Linked DNA regions of Homo sapiens: all the other regions are linked to region 1. Evidence: promoter capture Hi-C in human tissues and cell types (Jung and others, 2019). All regions are on one chromosome and are shown on one strand. The core of a region is centred on a gene start or on the middle of the fragment in contact, and the rest is flanking DNA. Distances in the headings are between cores, read along the strand shown.

Region 1 (4,261 bases), core at 799-3,298:
GTCCACAGAATCTCAGAGTACTTCACATTGGAGCTTGCACTCCCTTGTTGCTTTTTGGAGCCCTGCAACTACGACTACTGCTAGCCTATTGAAGGATGATGGGCTAGATTAAACAAAAGACAAAACATTGCAGCTGAGTCCCACACCCTCAAGACTAATAAGTATGCCACACCAGACAAGTGAGTGAAGCCATCCTAGATCTCTAAACCAAACTGAGCTAGCCAGGGCAGAAACCAACCTGACAACCCACAGAGCTTTGAGAAATTACAGATGTTTATTGGTTGGGGCTAATAAGTTTTGGAATGGTGTGTTATGCACCAAAAGCCAATACTTTCTAGGGTGATACTTTGGGACTACGTAAATATCCAATTACCCAAATAAATTTTACCAAGTTTATGATTCTGCCTAAGTTAAATATTATCACAAAGACTGCAAAATGGAATTGCGCCTTTTTTTAAGAGATGAAACATGTAAGAATGGGGGCTTATTTGTCTTTGAAAAACATAGGACTAGTAAGTAGCTGTATCAGCATCAGAACCCCAATCTTTTACCTGGTCCACAGTTTTTCTCAGTATGCCATGTAGAGGTGAGTGACCTGATGTTAGGACTGGAATTCACTAGAGAGAGCAGTAGAGAGACATTCCAGAGTGTTATGAGTGGGACCCTGTGTACTCACACATGCACAGAAGCATCTCTGGTAAATGCTCCATAATTGACGGTAGGGCAGGATGGACAATGTAGGAGGAGACATTAATACAGTTATTAACATAGAAATTTAAATGATACTTGACTCACGAAAAGATATAAAGATAATATCTCTGGAAATTGCCTTTCATGAGTATAATCAAGAATGGCATTGACATACTAGATTATGATTAATAGTATCATATGTTTGTCAAACGTGGCTGTTTAATATTTTTATGTAGTCGTTATATCCTCCCCCAATTCTGCCAAAAACATCCTATAAGATGTGTGAAGTGACACTGTGAGAAGCAAGGACCCCTGTCAGCCCTTATTACAAACAAGACAACTGACACCCGAAGGGCCAAAACTAGCCAAGAGCCACAGTGAATAAATTGCCAAGCAGGCACTTGAACTCGGCAATCCCAATTTCCTAGAAAAGTTCCTCTCCCATGGCAGTGGGGGACAGGTCCCAAGTCTTTGAGACGCTAATAATGTCTGCGTCTTAGGTTTCTGCCTTGTGCCAGGCACTGTTCTAAAATCTTTACATGTATTTAAACTCAGTACCATGGGGGTATTGGTACAACACATTAACTGAGACATTCATACGTCCAGGTACTTCGGAGTGGGTGTGTGTTTAATATCATACCTACTTGCCTGAGAAAGGAATTCAAAGCCCCACTTTTTTCTTTACCTCTTCATAAAAATTTGAGAGCCACAAGGAAGCGCTCTGTGTTTCCAGTACTCTTACAGTGCGTTCGGTGGCAGTAGTCACCGCCAACCAGAACACTAGGATCCTGCCAGGGTGTAGATACTGTAACCAACAAGAGGCCAACCTCCGTCCTTTCTGCGGAGGGCGCCGAAGCGTCAAGTACCCCGCAGCATCTCTCGGCTGGAGAGCCGACGGCAAGGGTGGGGTTGCCGGCGCTTTCCCCGAGGGCAGTCTCTGATCCTCCAGCTCCCCTCTAAGAGGCTCCCTGGTGCATTGGGCGAACGCGGTGCACGCAGGCCGGCTTTGGCGTTGTGGGGCCCCAAAGCGGCCAGGGGTCGCGAGGCGCCCTCCGGCGAGAGGAGCTGACCCCAGGGTTGCTCTTGGGGGCCGTGCCTGCCAAGTATCGCGGGACTTGCGCACATCGCAGAAGCGCCAGCTCCAGAAGCAGCTGGAGCGCGCTCGGTGCGCACCGCCCCAGCCCGGGGAGGAGCGGGAGCAGGGAGGGAGGAGGGCTGGGGGTGCTGGTTACGTAAATGATACTAGCCCAGTGAGAGGCCTCCAGGCTGGGGCTACGAGAGGAGGAGGGACCACGCGAGGAGGAGGGACCGGGAGGCGGCGGGCTGGGGTGGGAGGGGGGCGGGGGCCGGGGAGAAGTGACCAGGCGGCGGCGGCTCTGCTGAGGTGACAACGTGCTAGCAGCCCTCGCTCGCTCTGGGCGCCTCCTCGGCCTCAGCGTCCGCTCTGGCCGCGCTCGAGGAGCCCTTCAGCCCGCCGCTGCGCTATGAAGGCCCCTCTCTGGGGCTGGCCGAGGCTGGAGCCGGCTCCCTCTGCTCGCGGGCAAGTGTGAAGAGAGAGGCGCGGGCGGGAGCCGGGGCTGCGCGCGGCGCTCGCGGGCCGGCGCGGGTTCCAGGTGAGCGCGGACTCGGCGAGCCCCGCACTCGGCGCGGCCGGCCGGCGCCTGCTGGGCTTGATCTGAGGCTGAATCCCGTGTGTGGACCGCCGTTCCCTCTTCGCGGGATCGTTGGCCAGGATAGCAGGTCTCCGTCTCTTTCTCGCTTCCCCTCTTTTCCTCTTGATTGTCTGGGACGAGCTCCCTCTGGGCTGCCAGAGTGCCGGGGCTAGGTGCCGCAAAGTCCCGCGGCGAGTGCCGGGGCGCGGAGCCGAGCGCCCCGGGCCGGTCCCAGGGCAAAGGCAGGGGCGCGGGCGGACCTGGCGACGCGGCCTCCCGGGAGCTCCGAGTGCGCTCGCTTGCGGGGCTGCAGGTGTTGCGGGAGGACCGCGTGGCGCGGAACTTTCTGCCGCCGCCCACCTTCTGCTCTGCTTTTCTGGCTACCCCGGTGAGTTGTTGGTGGCGGGGGGGGGGGGGGGAGCGGCTCTGGCCCCCTCTGCGTTCTGGTGACGTTCCTCCGCGGGGGTGGCTCGGCCTCCAAGCCCAGACAACTTTCTCGCACCAGCTGCAGGCAGCCCCGGCTGCGTTGCGGGCGTTTCTACTCGACCCGACACCAGGCGCTCCCTGGGTCTTGGGTGTCTTCCTCGACGGTTGCCTTCGTATAGTGCCCCCTTTGCCTCGCTTTTTCAGAGTCCTCTTGCCTCTCATTCTCGCCGTGTGTGTCTCTGCCTCTGTTTCTCTTTCTGAGCCTTGGTCCCCTCAGTCCACACTCTCCGGCCATGTATCTGTTTTTTTCTCTTATTCTGTTTCCCTCTTTCTTTCTTGGGATATCTGTGTCCCTGTTAATCTGTCTTTCCTTTTGTCTCTCCGTTTTGCAACATTTGTTCTCTTTCTGTGTCTGCTTCTCGCAGCTTATCTCTGTCTCCCTCTGTCATCTCTCTGCCCCGTCTTCCCGAACACCAGCCCCGCGATCCCGAAGCGCCTTGGTTAGGGGAGCAAGCCCTGGCGCATCTAATGGGTATCTCCAGGTGCAGAGATTTTCCTGCGGGGTCAGTGGGGACGCGGAGGAGACAGCCTGCCCTTGTCCAGGCTGTCGTGGACCTGAAGGAGGGGCGCAAGGGGTTAGAGTGGAGGGCACCGCAGCAGGCTCCCCTTGCCGGGTCCGAGGGCGCTGCGCTGCTGCGAACCTGAGCGCACTGAGGCTGCTACTCTGGACAGCGAAAGCTGCGCAAGCCCCTCCCGCATACCCGATTCTTTGACTATGGTTAGTTGAATTTCCAGGAGGAGAGTCTGCCTCCCCAACCTTTATAGCCAGCTGCAGAAGAACGGACAGTGAGCAGGCAAACATAGATGCTTTGGGGTTCAGGGAAACTAACCTCGAAAGGGTGGGAGCTTTCTTCAGGCAAAGGTGTTGCTAGCAGAGGAGAGGAGCTTTGGGGACTGAGGTATGCCTGCCTTAAACTACCATGCATTCATTGCTTAGGAAAGCGGTTTCCTTGGAGAGATCGTGGTCAGCCTTCCCTGAAACAACATAACAACATAGAGGTTTTATTCGCAAGGCTAAAGGCACTTGGCTGCCAAAGCCCCCTTGAAATTTCTGGTATCCTTGAATATTTTCAGCTTTATGTGAAAGCTGCCTTTCCTCAGAGTCTCAGTCCGTCTCTCTCTCTTTCTCTCTCTCTCTTTTTCTGTGTCTCTCTCTCTCGCTGTCTCCCTGTCTCTCTCTCTCTGTCTCGTTTGCGTTCATGCCCTCTAGTGTTAAAGAAACCTGCTGGTTCGAGAATATTGAAAAGTAAGGTCAACCTATTGGTTATTTACTTTTGGACCTCTCACCTTCCGGGATAATTCTCCTTGTATTACACGCATCCTTTCCTTTTCCTCAAAGAATGACTTTTGCATTACATTACTAATCTTTCTTTCCCCCCGCACCCCCCTCCCGCAATCTCTGTTTTTTTTTTTTTTTTCTTTCCCCACGTCTC
Region 2 (4,261 bases), core at 1,215-3,714, 120 kb after region 1:
CTGTTCTTTATGAAGGAATATTAATAAATTCAGAAGATGATATATTTACGACTAATATATTTTATATTTTTACCAAGTATGTGAAGTCAATTTATAAATCACAGAAAATTATCAAGATTAACACCATTTACAACTATTGTATATATTAAGTTTTTATGTGCTATATTTGACAACTTTAGATATTTACTATAAATTAAATATCAAGTTCATTCTGAATAGATGTGTACAAATAAAGTGATTGTAAATTTATTGAATAAAGTGGAATAAAGTAGTAGTAGTATTTAGAATAATATACTGAATTAAAAAATGATTTCTTCCAACATTCATAGTAGAAAGCATTATTAATATGATAAATTTGGCCGGGCACAGTGGCTCACACCTGTAATCCCAGCACTTTGGGAAGCCGAGGCGGGCAGATCACGAGGTCAGGAGATCGAGACCATCCTGGCTAACATGGTGAAACCCTGTCTGTACTAAAAATACAAAAAAAATTAGCCGGGCATAGTGGCGGGCGCCTGTAGTCTCAGCTACTCGGGAGGCTGAGGCAGGAGAATGTGTGAACTTGGGAGGCGAAGCTTGCATTGAGCCGAGATCGTGCCACTGTACTTCAGCCTGGGCGACAGAGCAAGACTCCATCTCAAAAAAAAAAAAAAAAAAGATAAATTAAGCTAAATTCTTCTTGACATATTAGATGATTTGCAAAAGGATGCCAAATTTTGGTGGTAATGACTTTTATTCTTTTACTTTTCAAAAAATGTAGGTAAACCCCCTGTGCAACCATGATCATGCTTCAAGTACTTAGATCGTTTTTCTTTTGAATTAACTCTTGTATATTCAACAGAACACTTAATTGTTTTCTTTTTTTTGTTATTATTATACTTTAAGTTCTAGAGTACATGTGTACAACATGCAGGTTTGTTACATATGTATACATATGCCATGTTGGTGTGCTGCACCCATTAACTCATCATTTCCATTAGGTATAACTCCTAATGCTATCTCTCCCCACTCACCCCACCCCATGACAGGCCCCAGTGTGTGATGTTCCCCTTCCTGTGTCCAAGTGTTCTCATTGTTCAATTCTCACCTATGAGTGAGAACATGCAGTGTTTGGTTTTTTTGTCCTTGCGATAGTTTGCTGAGAATGATGGTTTCCAGCTTCATCTAAGTCCCTATGAAGGATATGAACTCATCCTTTTTTATGCCTGCATAGTATTCCATGGCATATATGTGCCACATTTTCTTAATCCAGCCTATCATTGATGGACATTTGGGTTGGTTCCAAGTCTTTGCTATTGTGAATAGTGCTGCAATAAACATACGTGTGCACATCTTCTTATAGCAGCACGATTTATAATCCTTTGGGTGTATACCCAGTAATGGGATGGCTGGGTGAAATGGTATTTCTTGTTCTAGATCCTTGAGGAATCGCCACACTGTCTTCCACAATGGTTGAACTAGTTTACAGTCCCACCAAAAGTGTAAAAGTGTTCCTATTCTTCCACATCCTCTCCAGCACCTGTTGTTTCCTGACTTTTTAATGATCGCCATTCTAACTGGTGTAAGATGGTATCTCATTGTGGTTTTGATTTGCATTTCTCTGATGGCCAGTGATGATGAGCATTTTTTGATGTGTCTGTTGGCTGCATAAATGTCTTCTTTTGAGAAGCGTCTGTTCATATCCTTCGCCCACTTGTTGATGGGGTTGTTTTGTTTTTTTCTTGTAAATTTGTTTGAGTTCTTCATAGATTCTGGATACTAGCTTTTTTTCAGATGAGTAGATTGCAAAAATTTTCTCCCATTCTGTAGGTTGCCTGTTCACTCCGATGGTAGTTTCTTTTGCTGTGCAGAAGCTTTTTAGTTTAGTTAGATCCTATAACTAAACTATTTTAGAGTTGATCAACAATTTCTGTATATGCAAATAATTTAAGTGTCTATACTAATGTAAGAATATCCATGACAATATTTTTTATCTTATTGAGAAATATATATCACCATTTTATTAAAGATTTAAGCTTTCTTAGATGATTTCATCTAAGAAATAATACAACTAAGAAACAATTAATTAGATTAGATCTCATCTAATATAGTTTAGTTATAAACATTTGCATATCTATATTAAATACTTTCCGTGTTTTCAGCTTTTTTGTATTTAATGTAAAACCCACATATTGATAACTTGTTTAAAATGCATAAAATCAACGCCTTTGATTTGCCTATTTAATAAATAAAATTGAACTCTCAGTTCATTTTAATTAAAACATTTATTTTATGTTTAATTTTCTACACTCAGTGCTGTGTTATACATAAAAATAAATACCACTGCCTGTTCATTTTGGAACCAAAGAAGGGTTGTATGTAAATTAATAAGAATTAGACATTGTCATTTCTCTCAGGAGCTCAGGGGCAACTTAAAGATATTCTCAGTTATTTCATAACTATCATTTAAATTTTCTTTTTAAAAGTTTTTGTTTATATTTGGCACATAATTTTACATGTTTATAGGGTACAGTGTGTTGTTTCAATACATGTATACATTGCATGATGATCAAATCAGTGTAGTTTTGATCTATCCCTCAATGTCTATCCCTCAATCCTTGATCATTTCTCCGTGGTGGTAACTTTCAAGATTTTTTGTCTAGCTACCTTGAAATATGCAATACATTGCTATTAGCTAAAGTTACCCTATTATGTGATAGAACATCAGAACTTATTCTTCCTCTCTAACTGTAACTTTGATAAACCAACCTCTACCCTACCACTCCCACCTTCTCCCTTACCTCTTCAGCCTCTACCTAAACACTATTCAACTCTCCACTTCTATGAGATCAACTTTTAGAAATTTCATCTATTAGTGAAATCTTGCAGTATTTGCCTTTCCGTACCTGGCTTATTTCACTTGACATTTTATCCTCTAGATTTATCTGTGTTGCCACAAATGACAGGATTTCCTTCTGGTTTTAATAGCCGAATAGCATTCCAGTGTGTAAATACCACATTTTCTTTATCCATTCATTGGTTGATGGATGCTTAAATTGCTTCCATCTCTTGACTGTTGTGACCAGTGCTGCAATAAACATGAGAATGCAGTTATCTCTTCAGCATACTGATTTCATTTTCTTTGGATAAATACCCAGTAATGAAATTGCTGAATCATATAGTAGTTCCATGTTTAATTTTTTGAGGAACTTCTATACTATTTTTCTATAATGGATGTACTATTTTATATTCTAACTAACAGTGTATAAGAGTTCTTCTTTCTCCACACCCTTGCCAACATTTGTTATCTTTTGTATTTTTGATAATAGCTATTCTAACTGGGATAAGGTGATATCTTATTATGGTTTTTATTTGCATTTCTTTTGATGATGAGTGTTGTTAAGCGTTTTTATCCTATATCTACTGGTCATTTGCATGTCTTCTTTTGATAAATGTCTATTCATGCCCTTTGCCCATTTTTGGATGGGATTTCTTTTTTGCTATTGAATTGTGTGAGTTCTTCATATATTCTGGATGTTAACCCCTTGTCAGATGCATAGTTTGCAAATATTGTCTCTCATTATGTAGGCTGTAACTTCAGTATGTTGACTGTTTGCTTTGCAGAAGTTTCTTAGTTTTACATAATTTCATCTGCCCATTTTTCTTTTATTGCCTGTGCTTTTCAGGATCTATCTGAAAAATTCTTCTTGAATCAATTTTGTGAAGTGTTTCCCCTATGCTTTTTTGTAATAGTTTTGTAGTTACAGGTCTTATATTTGAGTCTTTAATCCATTTTGAGTTCATTTTTGTATATGTGAGATAGGGTCCAATTTCATTCTTCTACGTGTGGATATCTAGTTTTCCTGGGACCAATTTTCTTTAATTGAATGGACTGTCCTTTCTCCAATGTGTGTTCTCAGCACCTTTGTAAAAAGACAGTTTACTGAGATGCATGGATTTGTTTCTGGCTTCTCTATTCTGTTCTGTTGGTCTTTGTGTCTGTTTTTATGTCAGTACCATGCTGTTTTGGTTACTGTGGGTTTGTGGTATATTTTGAAATCAGGTAATTGGATACCTCCATCCTTGTTTTTTTGCTCAAGATTCCTTTGACTATTCTGGGTCTTTTGTGGTTCCATACAACTTTAGGATTGCTTTTTCTATTTTTTGAATGAATGCCATTGGTGTTTTGATAAAGATTGCATTGAAATTATATATCACCTTGGATAATATGGACATTTTAATAATATTAAGTCTTCCAATCTATAAATATGTAATATCTTTT
Region 3 (4,261 bases), core at 498-2,997, 100 kb after region 1:
GTCATTACCTGAAGGTGTGACCTTGTTAAATTCATTTGCTATTGTGAGCCTCAGTTTTTTCATCTTGAAAATAAGAATAATGACCACATGGATTTTTATTCCTTCCTTCAGTAAATATCTATTGAGTGTTTTTTATGTGCTAGTCACTTCTGTAGGTATTGGGATGAGTCAATAAAGAAAGTAGGCAAAATTATTTTGGAGCTTGCATGCTAGTGGAGGAGATAATAAATATAACAAATAACCTATAGAGTAGGCTAATAAGCAATAAATGCTATGTAAAAAAATAAGTGGATATGGGGCTATTAGGAATGGAGGAAGAGTTCTGGAGAAGAGGAAGGATGGAAATCAGTCTAAGCATAAATGAGATATTCTTCCTGCCTTGATTTCCAGAAGTCATGGTTACCAGAAGAATTAAGATTTTTAGAGATAGACTAATTCAAGCTTCCTATTATTTGTTCTGTCACTAGGTCCTAGGAAATTGGAGTCATGTGTAAGGAAAAGAAAGTTGGTTTTGACAGTCTCCCTATGTCTTTGTGATGTAAAATAGTCTAGAGGAAGGAAATCTGAATGTTTTTTCTTAAGTGATAAGTGGGAAACTTTCACAATCTTGATTAGTGTATTATATGGGTAGCATCATTAGAAAGAATGGAAATTATTTTATACCCATTCCTTTATTTGCATATGACTGTCTTTGTTGTTTTCTTTGTGTTTGGGTATAAATAAGCAAATTAGGTAGGAAATATTAAAAAGAATTTCAGCAAAGCTTTTATTCTTAATTCAAGGAAATGTATTTTGACATTAATGTTTTTTAACCCTCATTATTAACCCTGTGATGGCATCTCTTGGCCTTCTTATCATGCCTTCAAATGTGTGATTATTCATTCCTAACAATGATTACATGTCACATTTACCTGGAGGATTTGAAAACATGCTTTTTCTTAGATACCATTCACCCCTGCTCCTTTTTTACTGGTGCTTTACCAAATTTCTCAGTTGATTCTAATATGCATCCTGACCTGAGAACTACTGACTTACATGGTCTGGCACATGCCTCTCTCTCTAACCTTATCACCTCCCATTCTCTTTATCACTTGCCTTTCTCTGCACTCAGGCCTTCTTTTCATTTGCCCAAATTGCAAGTTATGTTCATATCAGTCCCTTTGCATTTTCTACTCTTAACTACTCAAAATGCTTTTCCACAGAGTCATTCATTTAACACTTCAACACATATTTGTTAATTAATCACCTATTCACTCTACCGTGGATGAAACTGAAAAAAAATAACAATTCTTCTTAATTTGGCTGCTTTCTTCTCATCATTAAATGATTCAATAGAGAGTTGTTGGCCAAAAGAACCAAAGTTTCAGTTACACAGGATAAGTGGGGAGATGATGTATAGCTTGGTGGCTACAGTTCAGAAAACTGTGTTGCATACTTGAAATTTGCTAAGAGAGTAGGTCTTAAATCTTCTCACAGCACTACACACACAAAAAAACGGTAACTGTAAAGTGATGGATATGTTAATTAGTTTAATTGTCATAATGATTTCACAACGTATACCTATAAAAACATCACATTGCACGTCCTAAATATATGCAATTTTTCTTTGTCATTTATACTTCAATAAAGCTGGGGGAAAAAGAAAAATAAATAAATATCACATCCCAACATACCTCACCTGACCATTCCAGCTGACATTGCCACTTCAAAATTATTTTGTCTTCCTTATTTTATGACAGCTCTTATCTTGTTATATATTTTGATTTTGTCTTACGTATGTATGTGTTATTGTGTTTACAACCTGTAGAGGATATGTTCTATAAAAGTGAAAATTTGTATATCTTATTAGCCATTTTATCCTCAGTGCTTAGATTAGCATTGGCTGGAACATAATGGGTACTCAATAATCAATCAATTAATTAATTAATCAATCTGCTTTACAATGTAACTAAATGTGGTTTCTGTAGTTCCTAAACTGAGTCTTATCTACCATGAAGATACTGAAGTTTAAGGTTTAGCACCCATTTTAATCATGAATCATTTTCAATCAATTTTATCTTTGTAAAGCAGTCCTTCAAAATTCACAAATTTCAAGCCTTATAATAAAATCTGGATGTCTTCTGTTCCTAAATTTTCTTCCAAGCCAATTAGGTATTAGTTTATCAGAATAACATTTGTTTTATTTCAGTTAAAGTAGTAAAATAATTTTGCTCTAAAGAACAAGCTATATTGGAATCATGGGTTGAGTGAATAAAACATTTGGAACCAATAATAAATGGTTGAGGTAATAGCTCATTTTGGAAAACAAAAGCCATTCATTTAGCTTTTCTCGTAGAAATAGATTTTTTTGTCAATCGATTATGTTGGGTTACTTATAATAAGTAACATAGTAAATACATTTAATTCCATATTACTAAGTGATTAATTCCCACAGCACATTTGATATTTTTAGAAAATTTGCATATTTTTGTAACAATTGGCAAAAAATTAATATGGAAACATGAAAAATTATTGATATGGGTATGCATTTAAAATAAACTTGAGCTTAGTTAGGAAATAATAATTGAAATAATTCCATCTACACATTTTTTAAGCACTTGCACTATACCTCCTCTAATAATAGAGGGCATACTAGTCATAATTGAACTGATAAATCATTTTATCTTTAAGTTATTTTTAATATTGCTTTTGTCAATAAGGGAATATTTTTCTTTGAGAAAGCAATGAAAGCAAGCTTTGTGCTTGACATAAAATCTAGGTGTAGTAAGCTGTCATTCAAAATCCTTTATAATTTGACTTAAATAAACCTTTCCATCAACTGCCTCTCAAGGAAAGGGTACTACTGACTTATTCAAAGCATAAATGATTCTTTTATGCCTGTATACTTGCTCATATTATTTTATGTCTAGCATTACCATGCTACTTGTATTAGTATGTTCTCATGCAGCTAATAAAGACATACCTGAGACTGGACAATTTATAAAGGAAAGAGGTTTAATTGACTCACAGTTCCTCAAGGCTGGAGAAACCTCAGGAAACTTTAAAGCAGAAAGGGAAGCAAACACATCCTTCTTCACATGGCAGCAGGAAGGGGTGGTGCTCAGCAAAGGGGGAAGCCCCTTATAAAACCATCAGATCCCGTGAAATCACTAACTCACTATCAGAAGAACAGGATGGGGGAAACCACCACCATGATTCAATTACCTCCACCTGGTCCCTCCCACGACATGTGGGGATTATGGGAACTACAATTCAAGAAGAGATTTGGGTGGAGACACAGCCAAACCATATCACTATTTGAAGTGTAGTTCTCAAACCAGCATCATCATCATTATCTCAGAGCATTTTAGAGAAATGCAAAATCTCAAGTCCCACTCAAACCCACTTAATTAGAATCTGTATATTAACAATATATCTGAGTTATTCATATGACCATTCAAATTTTAAAATTAAGGTCCAAAATGCCCTTTTCATTAACTTTTTAATTTTTGAAATTCTAACTTCTTCTCAAGACTATACTCATATCCACTACCTATTGAAGTCTTCCTTGAATATTCTAGAGAAATACGATCTTTCAATCCTGGGAATTATTGCATTAAAAAAAACAGTGCCTTCAATTACAGCTGTTTGTAGATAATCTTCCTCTTTGAGGATGCTATTCATGCCTCAGCTATCACCTAGAAAAATAGATTTAATAGCTTTTCCAAAAATGTTGTTTCATTAATTATAGTCATGCTTTCCAAAACATTACAAATGAGGTACTGAATTTAATGCAAGGTAAATTTCTCAGAGATAAGAAGATAGAATATTGTCTGTTTATTCCCTAAACTGCTGCTTTCATGCTAGGATTGCAGGTCCTCAGGGTCAGAAACTTTCTTTCTACTTCCTGAAAGACTAAGATAGTAGCATAAGGACAGAAAATTGAAGAGGTTTCCTACATTTTCATTATGACTGAAACCTTGAATCATCATCTCTACTTGCATTCAGCCTGGGTATGAATTTTTGCTTTCCTCTTTGTTTTGCGTGACCTTTGTCAAGTATCATAGTTTTCTATGTCTGATATGGTTTGGCTGTGTCCCCACCCAAATCTCAACTTGAATTGTATCTCCTTGAATTCCCATGTGTTGTGGGAGGGACCCTGGGGAGGTAATTGAATCATGGGGGCTGGTCTTTCCCATGCTATTCTCGTGATAGTGAATAAGCCTCATGAGATCTGATGGGTTTATCAGGGGTTTCTGCTTTTGCTTCTCTCTCATTTTTC
Region 4 (4,261 bases), core at 669-3,168, 100 kb before region 1:
TTCTTGTCATAGTGTTGTTAGCTAGTTGTTTTGGCATTTCAGTTGTATGTAATGTTTTCTAGGATTTGTAATTTTTGTACTTAAGTGTTATTTTATGATGGTGAATACTATCCCTTCATTTCCATCTTTACAACCTCTCTGAGCCAGTCAAGTAGTGACAAATTCCCTCAGCTTTTGTTTGTCTGGAAAAGACTTTATTTATTTTTCATTTATGAAGGTTAGTGTGGCAGGATACAAAGCTGTTGGCTAGCTTCCCCCTCCCCCACCCCAATGCTAAAAATGACCTCCTAAGCTATTCTGGCTTACAGAGTTTCTGCTGATAAATCTGTTATTAGTCTGATAGAATTTCCTTTACAGATGATGCTTCTCTATTGCCACTCTTAGCATTTTTTCCTTCCTGTTGACTTTGGATAGTTTGATTATCATATGCCTTGGTGTGGTTCTTCTTGGATTGTATCTTGTAGGAGTTCTCTGAGCTTCTTGTATCTGAATATTTAAATATTTCCAAAAGCCAAGAGATTTTTCCTGAATTATTTTCTAAAATATATCTTCCATACTTTTTTACTTTTTTCTTCCTCTCCCTCTGGAATACATATAACTCATAAGTTTGAACACTTTACACAGTACCATATTTCTCAAAGGATTTGCTCAGTTTTTAAAATTCTTCATTTTTGTCTGAGTTAATTCAAAATGCCTCTCTTTCAGCTCTGAAATTCTTTCACTCAATTTAGCCTATTGTTAAATATTTCAATTGTATTTTGTAATTCCTTTAATGGATTTTTCATTTCTAGGAGTTCTGTTTAGTCTTTTTGTAATGATGTCAATCTCTTCTTTATATTCTGAATTGCTATTGTGATCTATTTGTGTTGCTTTTCAGCTTTCTCTTTAATCTCATTTAGCTTCTTTAAAATGAACATTTTGAGTTTTTTATGTGGTATTTCAAACATTTCATTTTGGTTAAGATCCATTGCTGGAGAGTTAATGTAGTGCCTTGAAGGCATTGTGACACTTTGTTTTTTTCCTATTTTTAGAGTTCCCACCCCCCCGCCCCCCCACACCCCGGCTTTTTCTCCTCTGGATAATTTATCTCCCCTTATTTTTTGAGTTAGATTTCATTTGGATGAAATTTCCCACCCTACCCCTCATTGTGGAGGTGGCTATAATGTATGTTGTCTATGGTCCTTTGACTTTGGTCTGGTTGCTTTCAGTGACCAAGAGTCTGTTTTTAAGTTCCTTGGTTATAGATAGCCCTTTCATAGTGCCTTTTCTAAATTCTGGTTGTAGTAGTCATGTTCTAGGCATATGAGCAGGTTCACTGGCACCTATGAGGCTGAAGCGATATTGGTATCAGGAAGCTTATCTTGCTACCCAGTGCTACGCACTGGTGTTGAAAGATTTCCTATTGTGTTATGCTGTTTCTCCTCGAGGCCAGTGGGTGGTGCTCATGGGTAAGAGCCAGAGAACTTCTCCCAGTAAACAAGGATCAAGTATATATTCATTTGCATCAAGGATCAAGTATATACCCATCTACATCATCAGTCACAGCTGATACACATAGGTATGTATACTTATTCCTTGTTTACTGGGAGAAATTTTCTATTGTCTCAGACAATGGGCTGATCTGTGTAATGCACAGTAGTCTGAGCTCCGTGCTCAGCCCTGGAGGGAAGGACCAAGATGACTGGGGCAGAGCTAGGCAGACCCACCTACAGGTTCCCAAATGGTAGGCATAGGCACCATCTTTGAGGTGTGGTCTTGTGGATAGCCATCAAGCACCTAGAGGTGTGCCTAGGCATGGAATTGGAAGACCTACATTGCCCTAAGTTCTCTGCATGGGAAGGGGGGTGGCCTAAACTTCTAATCTAGAAGAGTTGGTGCTCCAAACACCTGGAGATATGTCTGGGTGTCAAGCGGAAAGAACACCACTGCACTAACATCTCTGCAACTGAAAGGAAAGGTGGCTCAGGCTCCTAATCCATGCAAGTATATGTGCCTAATACATGGAAATATGCCCCAGCAATGATTGGAAAAACTGCTGTTACATGGGCTTTACAGGGGATGGGAGAAAATACTTAAGTTCCTAATCTGGTTGGGGGGCAGATGTGTCTCAAGGTGGGTGATATGCCCAGGGAAGGAGCAGAGAAACTGCCACCACAACAAGATCTTTGTATAGGAAGGTCAGGACAGCTCAAACACCTAATATGTGAGAGTGAGTGTGCTAAATGCTTGGAGTTACATCCAGGTGTGGAGCAGAAGAAGTGCCACTGCACCAAGTCCTTTGCATGGGAAGGAAATGGTACCTCAGGCTCCTATTCCAGGAAGGTAGGTACACCAAAAACCTGGAGATATATCCAGGTGTGGAGCAAAAAGTTTACCTTTGCACCAAGATTTCTGCAAAGGGGATTGTGTAGTCTCCTAATCTAGGGTGGCTCAGTCTCCCAATCCAGGTGAGTGTTTACTTCGATTGCCTGGAAATGTGTCCCTCTGTGAGACGGGAAGTTATCACTGCTACAACAAAGATTTTGTAGGAAAAAGGAGGGGCACCTCAGGCTGATAATCCAGGTGAGCAGGTGTGTGCTGAATGCCTGGAAATATGTCTAGTCATAAAGCGGAGAGGACTCCAGTGCCCCAAAATCTCTGCACAGAAAAAGAGCAAAAACTTACTAATCCAAGTGAGTGGGTGATCCAAATGCCTGGGAATATGCCTGGGTGTGAGGTGGAGAGAGGTTCACTGCACACAGATGCAAGAGAAGGATGGGTTGGACCATACTCCCAATTCAGGTGAGCAGGACTAGAGTGGGGCACTCTACCCTGGTTGACCAAGGGAGCAGTCCGGGGCACCCAGCAATGGCATATGTAGGCTGGTTCCAAGTCACAAATCTGTCTCTGGCTGCAAATCCCAGATTAAATCTTGGCTTGAGCAACTCTTCTTGCTGCAGTCTTGTGACTGGAGAGAGCTGATTCCAGTGCTTACCACTGAGGTGCTCTCCACACTTGCCATTCAATTCTGGCTGTGAGCATTAGTCCTCCAATGCAGAGCAACTACTCCAATCTCTGGCCCTTGACCAAAATGCCTGCAGTGGCTGCCGCTTCCAGGTCACCAAACAACGACTGATGTTCTATAAGCCTGAATTGAAAATGATTTCCTCCTCTCAGTTCTGGGCATCGGAAAATGCCTACAGCTTTTCCCATTATCTTTTCCTCTGCCTGTCTCCTCAAGTTTTCTCCAGGGCTTCAGAGGAACTAGGTGCTCTCTCTTGGCCTGGGTTGCATGGAACCCTAGTGGGAAGGTGAATCACAGCAGGAGACTCTGCTTCCTCATGTACTGGTGCTTCTCTCACTTTTATCAGCTGAATGCCATCACGGGGCTGCTTGCCCACTTTCTCCTCCCTGAGATCTGGGTTGTTGCTCACTATTCCAGTGAATTCTCATTTTCCTTCTTGAATTAAAGCTCAAAGAGTTTATCTTTATGCACTGTTTTGCTATTTCCAAGTGGCTGAGACATGCTAAAAGCCTCTAGTACGCCATCCTGGGGAAAAAAAGGTTTTATTAGCTTTTTTTGGAGCTGTTGTGATCTCCTGATCCCTTATAGTCTTCAAGTCCTTGCAGTAATGTCTACATTCGTAGAGACAGCCACTCCTCTGGCTTTTATAGGTATTTTTTTGGCAGAGATAGGCCTTGCCTATTTAGTCTAGCCTATGATTCTAGATGGGCCAGATGGTAACAACCCTGGGCAGGCAGGGCTTGTTTTAGGCTCTCTACATGGCTGGGCTGCTGCCCCTGCTCTGATTTTAGGTGAGACTGCTCGCTGGACTCCCTCTGCAGTGAAACCACTGGCTGAGCTCTGCAATTGAAGAGAGCTGCAGGGTGGCCACTACAGTTGCCTTTGACTGGGCCAGGCCACAGAATGTGACTCTGCAATTGGCCACAGCTGCTGGATGGCCACTGCAGTTGCCCCTGATTGGACCTGGCCAATCAGATCTCACTGGGTCTGGCCTGGTATTCCTTGACCAGGTGGTACTGCTATTTGATATTTGTAATTGGACAAGGTTGCAGACTGGGCCCTGAAACTAGGCAGAGTCACTGCTTGGGATGGATGGGACCAGTTTCTATGCTCAGTAGCAATGACAGGTTGAGGTTTGCTTCCCTACCTAGGTCGGGTGGGCTTTGAGGCTGAGCTGAAAGCTCCCAGTGTAACAGAACTAGTTCTGGCACTTGCTGTAATGCGCTGTGGCAAGTTGTCTACCTCTCTGGGCAGGTG
Region 5 (4,261 bases), core at 818-3,317, 84 kb before region 1:
AAGAGGAAACCCAGAGTCAACCAACAACCCTTCTGGCACTGCAGTTACAGTGGTATTTATTACCCTAACAGTCCTTGGGATGGGGAAAGAACAAAGAACAAAGTGCGTAGTCACTACGCTGACACCTCCAGCACACTGCAGCCACCATTTGGAGAGGAGTCCAGCCCCTCTTCGCCAGTTGGGACTCCTGGCTCATGACTGTGGACCAGTCACCCTACACGGCTGAGCATACTCACTTCTAGTGGCCCAGAGTTTTCCTAGAAAGAGGCTCCCAGAGGCATTTGACAACTCCTCTGCCACTGCCACAGCAGCACTTTAATCCCTGCTGCCCTTGGGGAAGAAACAAAGAGCCTAGGGCTACACTGAGCTTACAGCAACCCACAATTATGATACTGAGAGGAGATCAGTCTCTCCTCCTGGTGAGCCTTTGACCCCCTCCTCCCCAACAAGCAGGGCCCCAAGCTCATGCCAGCAGTGCAGCTGCTCCACCCCACTGGCTGAACACTCCCAGTAACAGCGGCTCCAAATTCCTTGGAGGTGGAACCCCCAGTGGCAATTGAAAGCCCCTCTGCCACTGCCACTGCAGTGGTACTACCCCTGCTACCCTCAGACTAACAAAGGAGCAAAGACCATAAGTATCTGTCCACACCTCCAACAAGTAGCAGTTGATCCAAGGATAGGAGGCCGGTCCATCTTCCATGGGTAACACCCACTCCCACTGTTCATAAATAGGCAGGGAACCGCTGGCTCGGGTCCACAGCACAGGACCCCCATCTTGGGCTAATCACGCTGAGTGGTTGCTAACCTGAATCTCCTGGGGTGGAGCTCCCAGGAGACAAGTAAAAGACCTTCAGCCACAACCACTGCTAAGGTCCCTTCCTCTGCTGCCTCCAAGTTGGGGAGAAAACATAAACCCTGAGATTATACCAGAGATATGATGGGAAGCCCAGGAGTACTAAGCTGTGATCTATGTCCAGCACTCAAATGGGAGGAGAGCCCACACTGTCAGAGCACCAAGAGGGAGAACAACTGCAAATGTGAGGAAATATAGGGGAGCCACACAACTGAGCAAAAGCCTACCAACTGACCGCTACACTTAAGTGCCACCTACTGGATCACACCTCAAAGCTTCAACACCAAAACTACCTCACTAGCATAACCCCCTGTGAAACCAAATATAAGTCAGCTGCAAATAAAGACCCTGTACAAAGGCTCAGTCCTGTGAAGATTCAGAAAATAAGCCTACTGACTGTACTCAATGTATATGACATTTAAAGAAATACCCACATTCAGAGATGAGAAACAAACCAATGCAAGAACTCCAGCAACTAATCGGCCAGAGTGTCTTATGTCCTCCAAACAACTGCACTAGTTCTCCAACAAGCATTCTTAACTAGGGTGAGTTTGCTGAAAATACAGAACTGGAATTCAGAATATGGATAAGAATAAAAATCAAAATTCAGGAGAATACTGTAACATAATCCAAGGAAACTAAGAATCACAATAAAACAATACAAGAGCTGACAGACAAAATAGGTAGTATAAAAAAGAACCTAAATTATCTGATAGAACCAAAAAACATACTACAAGAATTTTGCAATGCAATTGCCAATATTAACAGCAGAGGGAACCAAGCTGAGGAGGAATCTCAGAACTTGAAGTTTCGCTGTCTGAAACAATACAGTCAACAAAAATAAAAAAGAACAGAAGGGAACAAGCAAAACATTTGAGACATAGGAGATTATGTAAAGAAGCCAAATCTACAAATCATTAGCATCCCTGAAAGTGACAGGGAGAAAGCAAACAACTTGAAAAACACATTTCAGGATATTATCCATGAGAACTTCCCGAACCTAGCTAGGGAGGCCAATATTCAAATTCAGGAAATGCAGAAAACCTCTGGCTTGGGCCCATTCAAAAATAGATCATCCTCAAGATACATAATCATCAGATTCCCCAAGGTCAAAATGAAAGAAAAAATAATAAAGGCAGTAAGAGAGAAAGGACAGGTCACCTGTAAAGGGAAGCTCATCGAACTAAAAGCATACCTCTCAGCAGAAACCCTGTAAGACCGAAGAGATTGCAGGCCTATATTCAGTATTCTTAAAAAGAAAAGTAACTCCAACCAAGACTTTCATATCCAGCCAAACTAAACTTCATAACTGAAGGAAAAATAAGATCCTTTTCAGCCAAGTAAATGCTGAGGGAATTTTTTTTTTTTATCACCAGACATGCCTTACAAGAGCTCCTAAAAAAATTACTAAATCTTGAAAGTAAAGCCCATTACCAACCACTACAAAAACACACTTAAGTACACAGACCAGTGATACTATAAAGCAACCACACAAACAAGTTGACATAATAAACAGCTAATAACACAATGACAGGATCAAATCCACACATATCAATATTAACCTTTAATGTAAACATGCTAAAAGCCCCAATTAATAGGTAGAGAATGGCAAGCTGGATAAAGAAGCAAGATCCAATTGTATGCTATCTTCAAGAGATCTAACTCACATGCAATGACACCCAGGCTCAAAATAAAGGGATGGAGGGAAATCTGCCGAGGAAATGGAAATCAGAAAAAAAGCAGAGGTTGCAATCCTAACTTCAGACAAAACAGACTTTAAACTAACAAAGATCAAAAAAAGGCAAAAAGGGCATTACATAATGGTAAAGGATTCAATTCAACAAGAAGACCTAACTATCCAAAATGTATATGCACCCAACACGAGATCACCCAGATTCATAAAGTAAGTTCTAAGGACCTTCAAAGACACTTATATTCTCACACAATAATAGTGGGAGACTTTAACACCCCACTGACATTATTAGACAGATCATTGAAGCAGAAAATTAACAAAGATATTCAGGATCTGAACTCAACATTGGACCAAATGGATATGATAGATGTGTACAGAACTCTCCACCCTGAGACAACAGAATATATATTCTTCTTATTGCCACATGACACATACTCTAAAATTGACCACACGCTGAAACATGAAACAATCCTCAACAAATGCAAAGAACCGAAATGACACCAAACACACTCTCAGACCACAGCAGAATGAAAATAAAATCAAGACTAAAAAATTAATCAAAACTATACAATGACAGGAAATTAAACAACCTGATCCAGATGACTTTTTTTGGGTAAATAATTAAGGCAGAAATCAAGAAGTTCTTTGAAGCTTGTAGAACAAAGATGCAACATGCCAGAATCTCTGGGATATAGCTAAGGCAGTATTACTAGGGAAATTTATAGTACTAAATGCCCACACCAAAAAGTCAGGAAGATCTCAAATTAACAGCCTAATATCACAAGTAGAAGAACTAGAGAAGCAAGATCAAACCAACTCCAAAGCTAACAGAAGATCACAAATAACCCAAATCAGAGTTGAACTGAAGATCAAGGCACAAAAGTGTATTAAAAAATTCACCAAATCCAGGAGATGGTATTTTGAAAAATATAATAGATAGGCCACTTGCTAGACTAACAAAGAAAAGAGAGAAGATCCAAATAAACACCATCAGAAATGATAAAGGAGATTTTACCACTAACCCCCCAGAAAAACACATAACAATTATAGGCTGATATGAACACCTCTATGCACACAAACTAGAAAACCTAGAAGACATGGATAAATATCTGGACACATACACCCTCCTGAGACTGAAGCAGAAAGAAATTGATTCCCTGAGCAGACCAATAATGAGCTCCAAAATTGACTCAATAATAAATAGTCTGCCAAGCAACAAAAGGCCCAGGACTAGGCAGATTCACAGCCAACTTCTACCAGATGTACAAAGAAGAGCTGGTAATATTCCTACTAAAACTATTTCAAAAAATTGATGAGGAGGGACTGCTTCCCAACTCATTCTGTGAGGCCAGCATCACCGTGATACCAAACCCTGGCAGAGACAAAACAAAAAAGAAAACTTCAGGCCAGTATACTTGATGAACATCTGTGCAAAAACACTCAAGAAAATACTTGCAAACTGAATCCAGCAGCACAACAAAATGCTAATCCACCACAATCAATTAGACTTTATCCCTGGGATGCAAGGTTGGTTCAACATACACAAATCAATAATGTGATTTATCACATAAACAGAACTAAAGATAAATATTACATGATCATCTCAATAGAAGCAGAAAAGGCTTTCAATAAAAAGCCTTTATTATGTTAAAAATAATATAGGCTTTATGTTAAAAAACTGTCAATAAACTAGGTATTGGAGGAACATACCTCAA
Region 6 (4,261 bases), core at 854-3,353, 72 kb after region 1:
GATGGGGCAGGAAATATGTTATAAACAAATGAAGCACTGAGAAGCAAGATACCTACCTAAGGTCATCCCTTTATTTGATGACAGAGCCAGGGATGGTGCTGTTTACATCTTCCAGGATCATTTATGTATATGGCACTCCTTATAAACTTGGGAATGGCCGTGTAGTGACCGTCAATGTTATAGGTACTTCTCCATGGAATTATTTTCTACAATAAAGTGAAAGGATCTACCCTATCTTAAGACTGAAGACAGAACATTTGATAGCTTGAATTGTTTCATATCTCAAATTTAGAAAAGAATGTACACGGTAACAGGAAATAAATATGGGATAATCATTCCTTTATTATCAGGTTTAGAGGCTGATTTCCAATATTTAGCTATCATTTTTATAGAAAATTAAAGTGGAAATGAAACAAAGTAGATAATAACATGTTACTTTTTTCTAAGAAAAAAAACCCCAAATGTCATGTATTCTTTGGATTTACATATATCTCTCCATTATATATATATATACACATTCTGAATAAATGTAAATGTAATTTTTTTGTAATTACTAAAATAAAATCTGTTACAATAATTATTTTGTAACTGGCGCTTTATGTGAATTTTGAATTTGTTGCTAGTTTAGGTTGGTTATAACAGGCAACAGAATTTCTGTTGCTTTATGGTGCTGTCAGCTGCTGTTAATTTAAAGAGCTTGTGCTCATCAAATTATACTTTGATGTTTTTGAGACAAACGTTTATGAAATATTTCAAGTGTCTTTGTATTTAATACTGTTCACCCCAATTAGCTCTGTCAAAACTTCATCACTTATCTTATTCACATCAATAAGCTTACATTTTACTCGATATTATTTAAAATGTAACAAATGATATCAGAATATGTTTTGTCTGATTTACTTACTTTATAGATAAAAGTTGGTTAACCAGGTAGTTAAACAAATGTAGTAGTATAAATAAAATGCTCAATGTAGTATAAATAAAACAAATAAGTGTAAGGTATTCATTCTACACTTACCTTGAAAAATGTCTCTTAATAATTATGTACATATCTTTGTTATAGCCTTTAAATTCTTGCTCTGATTATTTTAAATCATTTATGTTAATATATTTTTCCCCTGATAAATTGGATGCGTGCTATCTATTCTAAACACACATTTATTGTAGATACTTTCTCTGCAGATCAGCTGGGATTTTAGAGGCTGTGTAATTATTGATCGTGTCTTGCAATTGCTCTACTTAAGAATATGAGAACAATTTTTTCTGTTTTATGTATTTATTTTATTTTATTTTTACGTATGTATGTATTTTTTTTTTTTGAGACAGAGTTTTGCTCTTGTCACCCAGACTGGAGTGCAATTGTGTGATCTCAGCTTACTGCAACCTCCACCTACCAGGTTCAAGTGATTCTCCTGCCTCAGCCTCCTGAGTAGCTGGGATTACAGGCACGTGCCACCATGCCTGGCTAATTTTTGTATTTTTAGTAGAGACGTGGTTTTACCATGTTGGCCAGACTGGTCTCAAACTCCTGACCTCAGGTGATCCGCCTGCCTCGATCTCTCAAAGTGTTGGGATTACAGGCGTGAGCCGCCGTGCCCAGCTCTGTTTTATGTTTTATTAATTATCTGTTCTGCAAGATGCTTTATAAATATGATTCTACATAATCCTCATAACAAATGAGGTTTAGCTTTGGCATTTCTATCCACATTATACAGATGAGAAAACTGTGGCTTAGAAAGTCTTCTATTCTTAGGAGGTGTACAGACCCAGACGTGTCTGTCTATGAAGGCCAGATTTTAGCCACTATAATATATTGTATCCCAGGATGATTTCTATTTCAGAATTATTGGCTAGTCAGAAGTACTGAATTAGAGTAAAGTCAGAATTGCACTATTTGACAACCTGGAGCTATAAAGAATATCATGATATGACTTTAAGTTCATTACAATACAACTTAAAGGAATCAAGTAGTTTGTCAAGGGCCTGGCAGAGTAGTGGCAGATCTAGTATTAGGTATTAAAATGTTAGCCAACTAGCTTGCTAGCAACTTTCATTTATTTAGGCTTTTAATTTTGGATTCGAAGGCTTGAGTACTGATATATTTGAGAACATTAAATAAGTCATACATTTCATGTTATATGTTCTTTATCCAAAAATCTATGTGTACAATTAATGAAATTTTCTTCTTTGTTTTAATGCAGTGGAATGTATCCTGCTTTCATCTTGGAGTTCACCTGTGTGGCTTGGATTTATCACAGTAGCATTTGTCTTCAATCTGTGTGTTAACTAGAAATCAAGGAAAGACATGAGGAGATTTGTCTACTGCAAGGTGGTTCTAGCCACTTCGCTGATGTGGGTTCTTGTTGATGTCTTCTTACTGCTGTACTTCAGTGAATGTAACAAATGTGATGACAAGAAGGAGAGATCTCTGCTGCCTGCATTGAGGGGTAAGTGCTTATGAAGCAAATACTGTCTTTATAGAGATGAGAAAAGTGGTGCCTTGACAAAATGAGAAACTTCAGAATCAGAAGAGTTTTGCCTTAGTGAGTTAGAAGAGCATTTTGGCAGCACTATTAATGCATGTTTAACCATGGGGAAGTTACTTTACCTTTCTTGGTCTTAGGCGTCTTCTTGGAAGAAATAAGAAGAGTTAGCTAACCTCTAAGATACCGTTCAACCTAATAAATTCTGGTGTTCTGTGACTGTATGAAAAGAACAGTTGAGTGAACGTTCAAACTGGGCAGAATTTTAAATCTAGGCTGCTAGAAGCCAAAAGCCTTTAAAGACCAAGCACATAACATAAAACGGAAAAACCACTAAAGTGAGACAGGTGGCGATTTTAGCAAACGAACTGTGCATGAATGACACCGCTAAAGACTTCCAAAACAGTTGAAATAAAACAACCAATTTTTAAAACAAAACACATGGCGGTATGCAGATTTACCAGATTGCTGGCTGTATGTTAAGTGAAAAAGATAATTTCAAGTATACTGTAAAATTACTTTATTTCAGTATTTTCCTCTTGAGGGACCAGTTTCAAAGACTAAATATGAATGTAAACATAATAATTTGTATGAATGGTTATTTATCAAGTAAAGCCATAGAGATTTGTTTTCTGTGAAGTTATTCCAGTTTTCTCTATGCTTTCTTTTTTGTTAACTTCAAGATCTATAAATATATTTCTAATGTATTCCTAGAAAATTCAATACTTCTAAAATATGTAAGAGTACTCAAAATTAGTTTTATTCTCATTGAACTAACATATTCTCTGTTTGGCAAAAGTTTTCTGCATAAATATGACAAAAAGCAAGCTTCAATTGAAGTATCATGACATGTTTGTACCTTTTGGAAAAGTGAATCTAAATTATCAAGTTGAGATTTACATTTATTTAATGAATATGATCTGCTTTTAATGTTATACATATTTTTGAGATATTTATTGAACAAAATATTTAATAAACAGAATCTCATTAACACTATCAGGTTACATGAAATTTAGGGAAACAGAAGAGCATTTCCAAAATTTAATTTTTGTTCAAAGAGTACTTTAGACATGTTGAGTTTGCTTTAGATTGCAAATCAAAGATTACTTTAGACATGTTGAGTTTGCTTTAGATTACAGAAATACTCTTGTTCATTTAGAGAAATTCTGAATCTTCTGAATCGCTTCCTTGTCTTTTAAAATGGAACTTGCATTTTAGATTTTGACTAATACAAATAATTTAAAAAAATTTGCAAGTGACTGATGCTAGACCCATTTAGGTAGTTTACATGCATTTTTTATGCCTTTATACTTCAGTTATTCTGAGAGGGGAACATTATAAGTCCATGTTTTTGACAAATGAACATGGGGAATGATTTGCTGATCTTTAGTTAAAACCCCAGAATTAATCAGCCTTCTGAGCTTCTTTGTCAGAATCAGTTGAGTTGCTGCTTGGCTGAATGTAGAAAAGTGTTTTTGATGGATTACATCAGTTTGGAATGATCACTCTGTCATTTGTTGAAGGAAACCATCTAGGTTGGTCACATACAAAAAATGTAATAATCTGATTCAGCAAAACTTTGATAGCCTTTTCTGCCAGTAACACAAAGGTACAGTTTTGCTGATTTATGTCCTTAATGCTCCTTAAGTCTTAAATCTCAAAATGTGAAATTTAACAATGCAAGGCAAAAATAACTTTTCCTTGTACTTAAATTGTAAAATTAAACTATTGTTCTCTTTGTTGATAAGACTTGTTATTTTACTTCATTCAGGTTGTTA
Region 7 (4,261 bases), core at 876-3,375, 65 kb before region 1:
AAGACAGGCTTATATAAAATATGCAATTTTACATTTTCTTTCTAAATTAGTGAGAAGACAAGAAGGTTGTAAAATAAAGGAAACACTGTTAATAAGAATTAGAAAAGTTTAGAACATAAGTGGCAGAACCTAAAAGTTTATTACATAGAAAATATTACTTAGAAATTAAAGTAGTCTAAATAAAACACAAGAGTAAATGAGCATAAATTATGAAATATATATGTAATTACGGTATACATAGATTGATATATATGAATTGTTAGATAGAATATAATGTAAATTATGAAACAGAATATTAAAATGAGAAAAATTTAAAAAGAAATGAAAAGGTTTGAGGAGGAAATGAGAACAATTGGTAGTCAAAGAAAGCTCAACATTTAGATAATATGAATCTCTAAAGACAAAAAAATCAAAGCAAGGGTATAGAAAAATACTAAAATACAATAAGTAACATATAATGAAAAGAATTATATTTTCATCAAAAATTTTAACACCAATAATTTATTCCAAAACGAAATTGAGTAATAAAATACTAAAGAAATTAAAATGTGAGCCGCTAATTTTGTATCTAGCAAAGTTGATTTTCAAATATAAAGGTCACAGACAAACTTTTTGTGACATGTAAAAACTCAGTAAATTGTTTCCTTTTCTGAAGAATCTACTAAAGGGAATGATTAGGCAATGAAAATGACTAGAGAGACATTGACATAACTAGTGATGAACGTTAACTATATAGTTACTTGTAGAATGAATCCTACATGAGTGTTACAAGGAGGAGAATATAATATGCTCAGACCCTGTAGATGTAGTACAACTATAGCAAAAAGCGAGGTGGGGATTATAGGAATAATATATGTAAAAATAGTTTTGAGAGTTCTCAGTGGATGTGGTGATATTAATATTGTTAGTCTAAAACTATGGTATATGTAATGTGTGAAAAATTAGTACTTATGAGATTTACTAATTCTGTAATTCATTGTCCTTTGAAAGTAGGATTCTGATTCTTTATGAAGAAGAAAGCAGATACAAGTGTAATACATGTGATTAATTTGAAAAGCCTCTAGTACTAAATTTGAAATGGAAGTATAAATATGGAATTAAGAGTATCCTGATTTATACATATATAAACATATATAATATAGTGTGTGTATGTGTATATATAGTGTATGTATGTGTATATATTCCTAGCTTTCCTACCAAAGAGCCTAGAAACAATGACCACCTCAGAAACAATGTATATCCCTAGCATCTGACATCCAGGTAGTCTTAAAATACTATTTCTCATGAAAATACTAGGATTGCTTGAAAAATGTCTCATGATGTATCTGCGGCAGCAAATGTCCAAGCTAAGTCTAAAACATCTTGTTATACCAATTGGTAATAAAGCTATCAAAGATTACTAGAGTAATGTTAAAAATTAGTAGATTTATGTCAGAAGGAGACAATTTGAAGAAGCTCCCACTAGCCAAAGATAGAATAATTTGTACTTTAATAAGGATAATTGCAATTGACTTAAATCCATTACTATACTATATTGACAACAGATCAATAAGGGGAAATAAAAAGCATTTATCTTATACTACTGGGTGAATAAATAACAGAGGAGAAGCGTGTCTCTTTATAATAATATTCTAACTAAAATATAGGCGGGAAATTATATAAATGAAATATCACTAATTTGCAATCCCCATTGAATTAATCAATTTAAGCATTGAATATCAACAGCTGCCAATGTCACAGAAAGAAAGGCAACCACAAATTATGTGGCTCTCTAGGAAAGAAATCAATATCATTATCATGATGTCAAAGGGGTTGAACATGAGTCTGATAAAGAGCCTGGATTTACCTGTCAATTTGTAAAAAAAAAAAAAAAAATAGGCAGAGGAACATACAAAGCTTTACCATGAGTATAAAATCAGTAAACTTTAGACTCTTTAATGCTGTAGGCCAAATGATTCAGATTCTTCAACAGGTAAATAGTGAGGGAAAGGAATAGAAGGGAACCTGTAGATGAAAGGAACTTAACAACATGCTGAATTTTTAAAAGTTAGTCAATGCCACAGAGCTACAGTGTTTCAAGATGTACACTTTGGTGAAAAAAAATTATAATGAAACATAGAAATGATTACCATAAAAGTTAAGAGCATAATTACTTTATGGGGAAGGCGGAAAAGTGAAGGGGATTGGGAAGGAATAGGGTTTCGGAGGTAGCTGGCAATGTTCTTTATCTGCGTGTTGGTTACAAAGGTACTTACCATCATCATTATTCATGCCCAATCCGTGTAGTAACAGCACAAAATAAAAAGTTAATTTCCTCTTTTAGCAACCCCATCCCTCTTCTCTCATAAGTTATCACTTATGACATACTCATGTATATCCTCCCAGATATTTTTCTAACCTTTTATATTAGATAGATAGACATATATATATATACATGTACATATGCAATAATGTATAAATATAAACTTGAATAAGGTTTTTATGTATTTTTTATAGAAATGCAATCAGCCTATATATATTATCCTTTGACTTCCTTTTCTCACTGAAAAATATGTCTAAGCTACATTTTCTATTAGATAACTACCTTTGCCTCATCCTTTTGAATGGCCATATGATATTTCTTAGAATGGCCACACAATTATTTAACTGTTTTATTAGATATTGTATATGTATAAAATATTTATAAAAATATGAAAAATATAAAGACCAGTGATGAAAACTCCCATCATTAGTTTAAAATATAGCTCAATATCTTTGAAGTTTGCTGTGTATGCCAGACCTTTTCCCATCCTCTTTCCTGAGTTATTTTACAGTATCAGGTTGATTATCCTCAAAGTTTAGTGTTTTGTATTCATATCTTCAAGCTTTTATTACATTTCTTTAAATGTGTTATAATATTTATTTTAATTCTGTGTTTGATAATTTCATTATCCATAGTCTTGAGACGCTGGGATTATTGTCTTGTATTTCATTTGTCCATGAAACTTTGTTTCCTTGTGCATTTTGTGACTTTTTGTTTACTGTGAGTTCATAACTTTTTGGATCTTTATTTATAGGAATTCAGTTTTAGGCATGAGTTAAAGCCTTCGGTTATTTTCTTAGTGGTAATTTTCATATGATTTTGATAAATGCCTAGCTAAGTTACTAACCTGAAACCACTTTCAACTGAATTATCAACTTCACTTCAAACTTTCTCATCACTGGCTCTTTAATGTGCACTTAGGAGCACATGGAACAAAGTGCAAAGTCAATGCAATAGCCCAAAGCGCTGTAGTTAATACTGTGATAGGCAGTTTAAAATATAAGTTACAGAAATGTGACTATGTTTTTTCTTCTATAATACTGGCAGCTTTTGGGGGCTTTCTGTATTATTTCATTCTATACTGAAACTACCTAAAAAGTCAATATTAGCAATATTCTATAGTTCAGCAAACTGAAGTGTGTAAAATTAGGCTATTTTTTTCCCACGACATTTTCAACTGGTGCCTGTTTCATCTACCACATCCCATACCATAAGCCTAGAGGTAGTATAATTGTCTTTCTTATTTCTCATTACCATTTTCAGCCCATTTTTTCTTTCTACTCTTCAAATCTTGGGTTCTTTGAAGTACCTGCTTGCAGACTAGATTTGCTATTAGTTCTCCTTTTTGCTGTCATCTAATCTCCAGGGTTCTCCCCTCGGTTTTTAACTATCTTAATATCCAGCTCATTCCCTTTCTAACTTTATTCCTGACATTATTTCTTGTGACTTCAGTCTCTGTTGTTGATGTCTTTAATACTTAGCTTCTCAGAAAATCTCATATATAAGAACCCTACTCTGACCACTACATGCTGTCTTTCAAGTTCACATTAGCTTCTTCTCTCCAACAACTCTTTTGCCCACATTGAAACATCCAATGCTTTGACCCAACCTATTTTTCACTGTCATCTGCCTTATCTTTTTTCTTAATTTTCTCTTTACCTATATTAGCCTCTGTGATTAATCACTTTAATCACTGTCTTGCAGAGGCCCTCAACTCCTTGCCTTTCCCTAATGTGTTCAAAATGTGCCTGGCAAAATGCCAAGCCTGCTTAAACTCATAATTCTGCTTATTCTGTGCATACACCTGAATATCTGAACATGGGTAGAGAAAAAGCACAACCACACTGACTGTTTTACCCTTAAATTTATAGTCACTAATCTTTTGTGGGCACTCAGTAATGCTAAGCATTCCTATTATATTTCCCTAGTAAATTGACTTGCTTTGTCATCAAAATGACT

What was found. Contacts are between HindIII fragments. The study calls those that stand out against the background at their distance.
Region 2: a fragment that was not itself captured here is called in contact with the fragment with the promoter of GALNT13 in region 1 in 4 of the 25 tissues and cell types used here (H1 embryonic stem cells, heart left ventricle, mesendoderm cells and 1 more).
Region 3: a fragment that was not itself captured here is called in contact with the fragment with the promoter of GALNT13 in region 1 in 5 of the 25 tissues and cell types used here (H1 embryonic stem cells, mesenchymal stem cells, mesendoderm cells and 2 more).
Region 4: a fragment that was not itself captured here is called in contact with the fragment with the promoter of GALNT13 in region 1 in 2 of the 25 tissues and cell types used here (hippocampus and neural progenitor cells).
Region 5: a fragment that was not itself captured here is called in contact with the fragment with the promoter of GALNT13 in region 1 in 3 of the 25 tissues and cell types used here (hippocampus, neural progenitor cells and spleen).
Region 6: a contact is called between a fragment that was not itself captured here and the fragment with the promoter of GALNT13 in region 1, in 6 of the 25 tissues and cell types used here (H1 embryonic stem cells, adrenal gland, aorta and 3 more).
Region 7: a contact is called between a fragment that was not itself captured here and the fragment with the promoter of GALNT13 in region 1, in 2 of the 25 tissues and cell types used here (dorsolateral prefrontal cortex and hippocampus).

What each region holds. Positions count from the first base shown.
Region 1 is chr2:153,869,874-153,874,134 of GRCh38, forward strand. It overlaps GALNT13 (polypeptide N-acetylgalactosaminyltransferase 13), which reads left to right and starts at 2,049. Exons shown (of 13, transcript NM_052917.4): 1 at 2,049-2,430. The HindIII fragment of the contact is 9,874 bases long and covers 1-4,261 here.
Region 2 is chr2:153,993,057-153,997,317 of GRCh38, forward strand. All of the region lies in intron 3 of GALNT13 (polypeptide N-acetylgalactosaminyltransferase 13), which reads left to right. Among named protein-coding and RNA genes, the nearest start is that of GALNT13, 120 kb to the left of the region's middle. The HindIII fragment of the contact is 5,491 bases long and covers 1-4,261 here.
Region 3 is chr2:153,974,350-153,978,610 of GRCh38, forward strand. All of the region lies in intron 3 of GALNT13 (polypeptide N-acetylgalactosaminyltransferase 13), which reads left to right. Among named protein-coding and RNA genes, the nearest start is that of GALNT13, 100 kb to the left of the region's middle. The HindIII fragment of the contact is 5,725 bases long and covers 1-4,261 here.
Region 4 is chr2:153,769,124-153,773,384 of GRCh38, forward strand. It overlaps a transcript of GALNT13 not described here. Among named protein-coding and RNA genes, the nearest start is that of GALNT13, 100 kb to the right of the region's middle. The HindIII fragment of the contact is 4,962 bases long and covers 1-4,261 here.
Region 5 is chr2:153,786,194-153,790,454 of GRCh38, forward strand. It overlaps a transcript of GALNT13 not described here. Among named protein-coding and RNA genes, the nearest start is that of GALNT13, 84 kb to the right of the region's middle. The HindIII fragment of the contact is 4,836 bases long and covers 1-4,261 here.
Region 6 is chr2:153,942,193-153,946,453 of GRCh38, forward strand. GALNT13 (polypeptide N-acetylgalactosaminyltransferase 13) reads left to right here. Exons shown (of 13, transcript NM_052917.4): 3 at 2,202-2,447. The coding sequence starts at 2,306. Among named protein-coding and RNA genes, the nearest start is that of GALNT13, 72 kb to the left of the region's middle. The HindIII fragment of the contact is 4,583 bases long and covers 1-4,261 here.
Region 7 is chr2:153,804,823-153,809,083 of GRCh38, forward strand. It overlaps a transcript of GALNT13 not described here. Among named protein-coding and RNA genes, the nearest start is that of GALNT13, 65 kb to the right of the region's middle. The HindIII fragment of the contact is 3,834 bases long and covers 209-4,042 here.